Regions from separate parts of the Homo sapiens genome. Here region 1 is linked to region 2. Evidence: promoter capture Hi-C in 16 types of primary human blood cells and fetal thymus (Javierre and others, 2016). All regions are on one chromosome and are shown on one strand. Each heading gives the region's core, a stretch centred on a gene start or on the middle of the fragment in contact. The rest is flanking DNA. Distances are from core to core; before and after follow the strand shown. Region 1 overlaps CEP290 (centrosomal protein 290). Region 2 holds the start of C12orf50 (chromosome 12 open reading frame 50).

Region 1 (2,700 bases), core at 201-2,700, 87 kb before region 2:
TGAGATGGAGTCTGTCTTGTTCTATTGCCCAGGCTGGAGTGCACTGGTGCGATCTTGCTCATTGCAACCTCCGCCTCCCGGGTTCTAGTGATTCTTGTGCTTCAGCCTCCTGAGTAGTTGAGACTACAGGCGTGAGCCACCACGCCTGACTTATTTTTGTATTTTTAGTAGAAACAGGGTTTCACCATGTTGGCCCAGGCTGGTCTTGAACTCCTGACCTCAAGTGATCCATCCACTTTGGCTCCCCAAAGTGCTGGAATTATAGGCGTGAGCCACCATGCCTGGCCTTAAATTATTCTTTTCTAAGTGAAAGTAATGTTTTATTGAATATAAATTAACATCTTTCTTGGGTTTATTTTACTTGAGCTAAAGAGAACAGTTGGTTAAGTTTTATAATAGCCATTGCAGTGCTTTTTTGTAAGAAGACCACACAGAAGGACTGTCTTTTTCACTTGCCCCAAATCCCCAAGCACGTATATGAGTAATAGCAGAGTGGTTCTTTTTAGCATTATGATTTCTATAATACATCCAAAACTTTCTCAAGAAAAAACTTCATGATTTATTAGTACAATAATCAGTTTACTCATTACTCATCATTTATATTTACTTTATATGTCTTTTAACTGGTGCTTATTAAGTAGCACTTTAATATAGAATAGGCAAAGAATGGTAGAGAAGATGAAATTCAAAAATTAGGTTCTCACATTATTAATAGTTCATTAAAAGTGAGCTAAATGAGAAGCTTGTATTGGCTATGTAGAATTTTGGAGGGATTTTGGAAACAATTATTCTACCTTTGCATTAAAACTTGATTGTAGGTTTTAAGAATTAAAGTGTTGGAATAGTAGGAGGGTTATTTTAATGTTTTTAGTTTGTTAATTCTCTTATATATAGGATTAACCACTGAGGACCTGAACCTAACTGAAAACATTTCTCAAGGAGATAGAATAAGTGAAAGAAAATTGGATTTATTGAGCCTCAAAAATATGAGTGAAGCACAATCAAAGGTAATAGTAAAGTATTGCAAAGAGAGTAAAGGAAAATATTTTTTTTTTTTTTTTTTTTTGAGACGGAGTCTCGCTCTGTCTCCCAGGCTGGAGTGCAGTGGCGCGATCTCGGCTCACTGCAAGCTCCGCCTCCCGGGTTCATGCCATTCTCCTGCCTCAGCCTCCCAAGTAGCTGGGACTACAGGCGCCCGCCACCACGCCCGGCTAATTTTTTGTATTTTTAGTAGAGACGGGGTTTCACCGTTTTAGCCGGGATGGTCTCGATCTTCTGACCTCGTGATCCGCCCGCCTCGGCCTCCCAAAGTGCTGGGATTACAGGCGTGAGCCACCGCGCCCGGCCAGGAAAATATTTTTATTGTGTTTTCATTTCTTCCCCCTTTATCTCATTCTTGAACATCTAATCTTATTATTGTTGTTAAATAAGTAGAGGGAAATATTTGCTTATTTAACCTGTTGATTCAAAGATTGATTAATGAGACATTATTTACTCTGAATACAGATTAGGAGTTCAGATAAAGCAGAGCTGCTGCATAGGAGATCATCATTCAATACCCCACAGTCAGATCAGAATGAGACAGAAGAGAATATGACCATAGGATCATTATCAAGAATGTTATCTGAAATTCACCATAGTGTAGAAAGTGGAATGCATCCTTTTGTCCCTTTAACTAGACTTTCTTCATCCATGCAAGTTAAAGAGAATTCAACTCCAGAAACTATTACAATAAGAGAGATTTTTAAAGCACCATGTCTGCAGTCTTCAAGAAATCTAGAATCGTTAGTCAGCACCTTTAGTAGGGAAAGCCATGAAGAAATAAATGACATATGCCTTTTTTCTGATGACTGTATGAAGAAGGTGTCAAGAAGCCATCAAGCACTAGAGAAGACTAGTTTTGTACAAAAAAGCAATTCATCTTTTCATGGCTTATCAACAGCTTCAGACATAATGCAGAAGTTATCACTTAGGCAAAAATCTGCAATATTTTGTCAACAAATTCATGAAAATAGAGCTGACATGGATAAATCACAAGTAGCAACATTAGAAGAAGAACAGGTTCATTCCCAAGTAAAGTATGCTGATATCAATTTGAAAGAAGATATAATAAAAAGTGAAGTACCCTTACAGACAGAGATATTGAAAAATAAGCTTAAGGTTAATCTTCCAGACCCTGTGTCTATTACTGCACAATCAAAATTATCTCAGATAAATTCTCTTGAAAATCTTATAGAACAGTTACGGAGAGAGCTAGTATTTCTTAGATCTCAGGTGAGTTTTTCTCCAAATTATATTTCTGTGGTTGTTCTTTTATGACGTCTCTAACAAAGTTCTGTAACAATTATAGTTAGAATATTTTTGTTTGCACTTTAACATCAGTTATACACATTGTACTTTTTAAAATCTAAAATGCAGTACATTGATATGAACTCATTGACTTGTCTAATTTATTAAATTTTTCTTTAGAATGAAATCATAGCACAGGAATTCTTGATCAAAGAAGCAGAGTGTAGAAATGCAGATATAGAGCTTGAACATCACAGAAGCCAGGCAGAACAGGTAGTGTAAAGGCAGAACATTAAAAGAGATGATTGTGGTACTAAAGACAAAAACCGTTATATCTTTTTGCCTCTTACCATGGATGTTGGGAGAGGGAGAAAGTGGGATTAAGATCACCATCTGCTTTACTGTTTAGAT
Region 2 (5,564 bases), core at 3,039-5,538:
AAAGTACTTACAGAATTTTCAGGCCTACTTCCAGCCCTGGAGACAAATTTCCCATCATTCTTCATTACAGGAGTAATCATCCTCATAGGGCTGTAATAGCTTTTTTTTTTTTTTAGATGGAGTCTCGCTCTATCACCCAAGCTGGAGTGCAGTGGCTCAATCTTGGCTCACTGCAATCTCCACGGCTTGGGTTCAAGCGATTCTCCCGCCTCAGTCTCCTGAGTAGCTGGGATTACAGGCGTGTGCCACCACGCCCAGCTAGGTTTTGTATTTTTTTTAGTAGAGACAGTGTTTCATCATGTTGGTCAGGCTGGTCTTGAACCCCTGACCTCATGATCTGCCCACCTCTGCCTCCCAAAGTGCTAGGATTACAGGTGTGAGCCACCACGCCTGGCCGTAACAGCTTTTTTTTTTTTTAAGACCAGAATGAAATTCACAACAGTAAAGAATAGAACTGAAGAGAATAAGGAAAAGAAAAAAGGGGCTGAGGGAGAAGGAAAAGAAAAGAGAGTTTAAAAAGGTAGAGAAGGTAAGACTCCAGGCATTCTAAACACTACCAAAATGTACAGATCTATTTTATGTGCTCTGCAATGACAAAAAAAAAAAAAAAAAAAAAAAAAAATCCCATGTGAGTTTGACCTGTTTTTGCTGTGTCTACTGGAATGTAGCTGTTTGCACCTAACTTCAAGAAGTAAACACTTTTTTTCAGACTTTCTCCTTTGTAAAACAGGAATTCTCACAATGACTTTAATCATGATGTTACATGTAACATGCAATAATAGTGTTTGGTAAGAATATTTGAAAACAGTCCAATGAAGCTACAAGTTCGCAGGTGTAGACAGTGTTTATCTGGAGGCAAAACACACTTAAAATATTTCTTAGGGATGTTTCTCCCAGTAGCTTAAGTGCTTACTTCATGGGTGCTTTGTTCTAGAGTTAGAAGATAGGGCAAAACAAAATGTAGTTATATTTTTCTATGTATCTTTGCCAGTATTTTCAAGGGTTTAGCCAAATCTTTATTCTCTACTTCATTTACCTCTCACACTACCTCGTTTTTTTAATTATGTTCAATTTACATTTAAAAACTTTTTTCTATATTTTATTTTATTTTACATATCAGATTTTTATCCTAAAACATTGTCTTCCAAAAGTTCCCAGCAGCTTAGCTTGTTTTACATAACCGAAGTGGGAATTCATATTTGTCTTAGTCTTTTACATTTCTAATTAAACATACATGACAATTTAAAAATACGTTTTTATCTAGAGTAATGTGTGATTTTCATGGCACCTTTTATGTTATTTATTGATATGACTTGGCTGTGTCCCCACCCAAATCTCAACTTGAATCATATCCACCAGAATTCCTATGTGTTGTGGGAGGGACCCAGGGGAAGTAATTGAATCATGGGGGTGGGTCTTTCCCATGCTAATCTCATGGTAGTGAATAAGTCTCACAAGATCTGATAGTTTTCTCAGGGGTTTCCACTTCTGCTTCCTCCTCATTTTATCTTGCTGCCACCATGTAAGAAGTGCCTTTTACCTCCCACCATGATTCTGAGGCCTCTCTAGCCATGTGGAACTGTAAGTCCAATTAAACCTCTTTTTCTTCCCAGTCTTTATCAGCAGTGTGAAAGCAGACTAATACAGTAAATTGGTACTAGTAGAGTGGGGTGTTGCTGAAAAGATACCCAAAAATGTGGAAGTGACTTCAGAACTGGGTAACAGGCAGAGGTTGGAACAGTTTGGAGGGCTCAGAAGAGACAGGAAAATGTGAGAAAGTTTGAACCTCCTAGAGACTTGTTGAATGGCTTTGACAAAAATGCTGATAGTGATATGAACAATAAGGTCCAGGCTGAGGTGGTCTCAGACAGAGATGAGGAACTTGTTGGGAACTGGAGCAAAGGTGATTCTCGTTATATTTTAGCAAAGAGACTGGCAGCATTTTGCCCCTGCCCTAGAGATTTGTGGAACTTTGAACAAAGTACCTGAGAGATGATTTCAGGTATCTGGTATTGCTGAATCTGGAAGATTGAATGCTTAGCAAAGCATTCAAAAGGTGACTTGGGTGCTGTTAAAAGCATTCCATTTTAAAAGGGAAACAGAGCATGAAAGTTTAGAAATTTGCAGCCTGATGATGCAGTAGAAAAGAAAAACCCATTTTTTGAGGAGAAATTCAAGCCAGCTGCAGAAATTTGTATAAGTAGCAAGGAGCCTAATGTTGATCCCCAAGACCATGGGGAAAATGTCTCCAGGGTATGTCAGAGACCTTCACGGCAGCCCCTCCCATCACAGGCCCAGAGGCCCAGGAGGAAAAAGTGGTTTTATGGGCTAGGCCCAGGGTCCCCGTGCCATCTGTAGCCTAGGGACTTGGTGCCCTGTGTCTCAGCCAATCTAGCCATGACTGAAAGGGGCCAACATAGAGCTCGAGCTGTGGCTTCAGAGGGTGCAGGCCCCAAGCCTTGGCAGCTTCCACATTGCTGTTGAGCCTGCAGGAGCACAGAAGGCAAGAATTGAGGTTTGGAAACCTCCACTTAGATTTCAGAAGATGTATGGAAACACCTGGATGCTTAGGTAAAAGTTTGCTGCAGAAGTAAGGACCTCATGGAGAACCCCTGCTAGGGCAGTGTGGAAGGGAAATGTGGGCTGGAGCCCCCACACAGAGTCCCTCCTGGGGCACTGCCTAGTGGAGCTTTTAGAAGAGAGCCACCATCCTCCAAACCCCAGAATGGTAGCTCCACTGACAGCTTGTGCCATGCACCTGGAAAAGCCACAGACACTTAATGCCAGCCTGTGAAAGCAGCCAGGAGGGAGGCTGTACCCTGCAAAGCCACAGGGTCAGAGTGCCCAAGACCATGGGAACCCACCTTTTGCATCCACATGACCTGGATGTGAGACCTGGAGTCAAAGGACATCATTTTGGAGCTTTAAAATTTGACTGCCCTGCTGGAATTAGGACATGCAGGGGTCCTGTAACTCCTTTGTTTTGGCCAACTTATCCCACTTGCAGTGGCTTTGCCCAATACCAGTATCCCCATTGTATCTAGGAAGTAACTAGCTTGTTTTTGATTTTACAGACTCATAGGTGGAAGGGATTTGCCTTGTCTCAGATGAGACACTGGACTGTGGACTTTTGGATTAATACTGAAATGAGTTAAGACTTTGGGGGACTATTGGAAAGGCATGATTGGTTTTGAAATGTGAGGACATGAAGTTTGGAGGGACAAGTGGTGGAATGATATGGTTTGGCTCTGTCTCCACCCAAATATCAACTTGAATTGTATCTCCCAGAATTCCCACATGTTGTGGGAGGGATTCAGGGGGAGGTAATTGAATCATGGGTACGGGTTTTTCCCATGCTAATCTCATGATAGTGAATAAGTCTCATAAGATCTGATCAGTTTATCAGGGGATTCTACCTTTACTTTCTCCTCATTTTCTCTTGCCACCGCAGTGTAAGAAGTGCCTTTCACCTCCTGCCATGATTCTGAGGCCTCCCCAGCCATGTGGAACTGTAAGTCCAATTAAACCTCTTTTTCTTCCCAGTTGGGTATGCTTTTATCAGCAGCATGAAAACGGACTAATACATTTATGAGGAATATTTTTTATTAATTTCTGCTGGGTTTTAATTATTTGATTAAAGATACTAAGAGGAAGATATAAATAACTGCTGATTGAAATGTTTCATTCTGGAAATCAGAGTATTTCCCTTGTTTTCAACAAATTCTCAAAGCCTTCAAGCACTCTGGAAACTTTCTGCTATAGGAAGAAGATATTCCTCTTTTTATGATGGATGAAAAATAAATGGAATATAGCCACAAGATGAATAAGTAGCCCAATATATTTTCAGGTACCTATTAATATATCACAATTTGAATATGATTTTTCCCAAATCAATGGATAGTAGAGAGTACATATTTAAATAATTGTTTTTATTATCTTAGAATATGAGTAGCTCATTTACCTATGGCAAATTTTTAGTGTTATTCCCAAAACCTCTATAGAAACGAAGATTTAGAAATAGCTGTTTACTTGTGAAATACTTATCACTTTCTATTATAAAAGTATAAACTAGTTTATAGTCCATATTCAACGAGAACATTGAAAGATTAAAGTATGCTATTTTATTTTTGCTAGTCCTTTGTAGTTAATATGCTAAAACTGAGTAAGGGAAATACAGTGTTCACTCAGGTAAACTGTAGTTTACCTGAGTGAACATTGGCCTGCAGTTACATGTGAGGTCATTTATGATGAGCAAACAATGGATTAGGTAACAATGAGGAAAATTCTAGAAGTTTGAGTTTGTGTGCTTACTAGCAACCACTTTCAGCGTTTCTGCAAAGCTAGAGAAGGTATCTTCTAATTTAAATGTCTTTAAGAATTATCTATTGCGTAATATACTGTCAACAGGAGGTCAGTTTTAAAGGAATACTACTGATAGCCTGAAAGACTGTGGAAAAGAAATTATTTTTCCCCCTTACACACTGATAGTTCTTGTATTTGCATTCCTGAAATTCATATATATTTTTCAAAAAAAAAAAACCATTGGATTAGCAGCAAGAGAGTTGAAAATGGCAGAAGTTGGGAATGACTGCTATTTCTTTTTTAATTCCACATGCATAAAGGTAAATATTGTACAATTGACAGTACTTCACATGCTTAATCTTTTTAGTAGAATGAAGGGAGATATGGCAATAACTTGTATTGCTGAACAAAAATTTACTATTTTCTTGCAAGATATCTTATATTTGTAAAATCTGGAGTAACAGCTTATCATGTATTTTTGACATACTGAATTTCTCTGAAGAAATCTGAGATAATTTAAAATTATTATTTGTTTGAAACTACCCTTATATATACCAGTTATATGTCTATAGCTTTTGAATCTTCATGTGGCACTTTTGCCTATATTATGACACCTTGAGACATTAAATTCCTAATATTAAAACATCATAGGTTACAAGATATTGTTTTAGTTAATATGATTCCAGTCATTATAATTCAAATAGTTGAATTCAGGTAAGTGTCAATCTTAGTGTAATAAATCTGTTTTCCTATTTGAAATTTATTAACCCAATTACTGAATTTTCCTCTGTCAAAAGTCTAAGTAATAACAAATATTTAAATATCATTAAAAAAGAAAATTAATATAAACAAATTGGCCACATATAAATTAAACTTTATAAAGTTAAATGGGAAAAACTGAGAATTCCTCCAATGTATTAGGATGTATAGATCTTAGTAAAACCAGATAAAGGTAGAAACTCAATATTTGGAGCTTTGTGCTCATGCAAGAAATAATCCAGTGAAAAAGATGATATGTCTGGTTTCAAGTGTTTCCTCTCTGTTAGGAAACCTGAATGGAGTCAACCTCTCTGACCACAGAAATTGGATTCACTTCTATTACCTGTTAGATTAAATGCTAGGATAATAAAGAATAATAACAGATTTCATGTCCCAGGTGGGCAGAGTGTTTTGTCTATTTCACTGCTGTATCCCCAAGTACTTAGCAGAGTGGCTAATGAGTAAGTTACCAGTAAATAATTAAATGAATAAATAATAATAAT

What was found. The method cuts DNA at HindIII sites, captures the fragments that hold promoters and counts their contacts. A CHiCAGO score of 5 or more calls a contact.
Region 1: a contact is called between a fragment that was not itself captured here and the fragment with the promoter of C12orf50 in region 2, in 1 of 17 cell types (naive CD4 T cells). The highest score is 5.0, in naive CD4 T cells.

The regions. Positions count from the first base shown.
Region 1 is chr12:88,115,340-88,118,039 of GRCh38, reverse strand. It overlaps CEP290 (centrosomal protein 290), which reads left to right. Exons shown (of 54, transcript NM_025114.4): 18 at 895-1,007. Among named protein-coding and RNA genes, the nearest start is that of CEP290, 25 kb to the left of the region's middle. The HindIII fragment of the contact is 1,412 bases long and covers 745-2,156 here.
Region 2 is chr12:88,028,125-88,033,688 of GRCh38, reverse strand. C12orf50 (chromosome 12 open reading frame 50) reads left to right here and starts at 4,288. Exons shown (of 13, transcript NM_152589.3): 1 at 4,288-4,349. LOC107984542 (a long non-coding RNA gene) reads left to right here. Exons shown (of 3, transcript XR_007063395.1): 3 at 421-596. The HindIII fragment of the contact is 7,634 bases long and covers 1-5,564 here.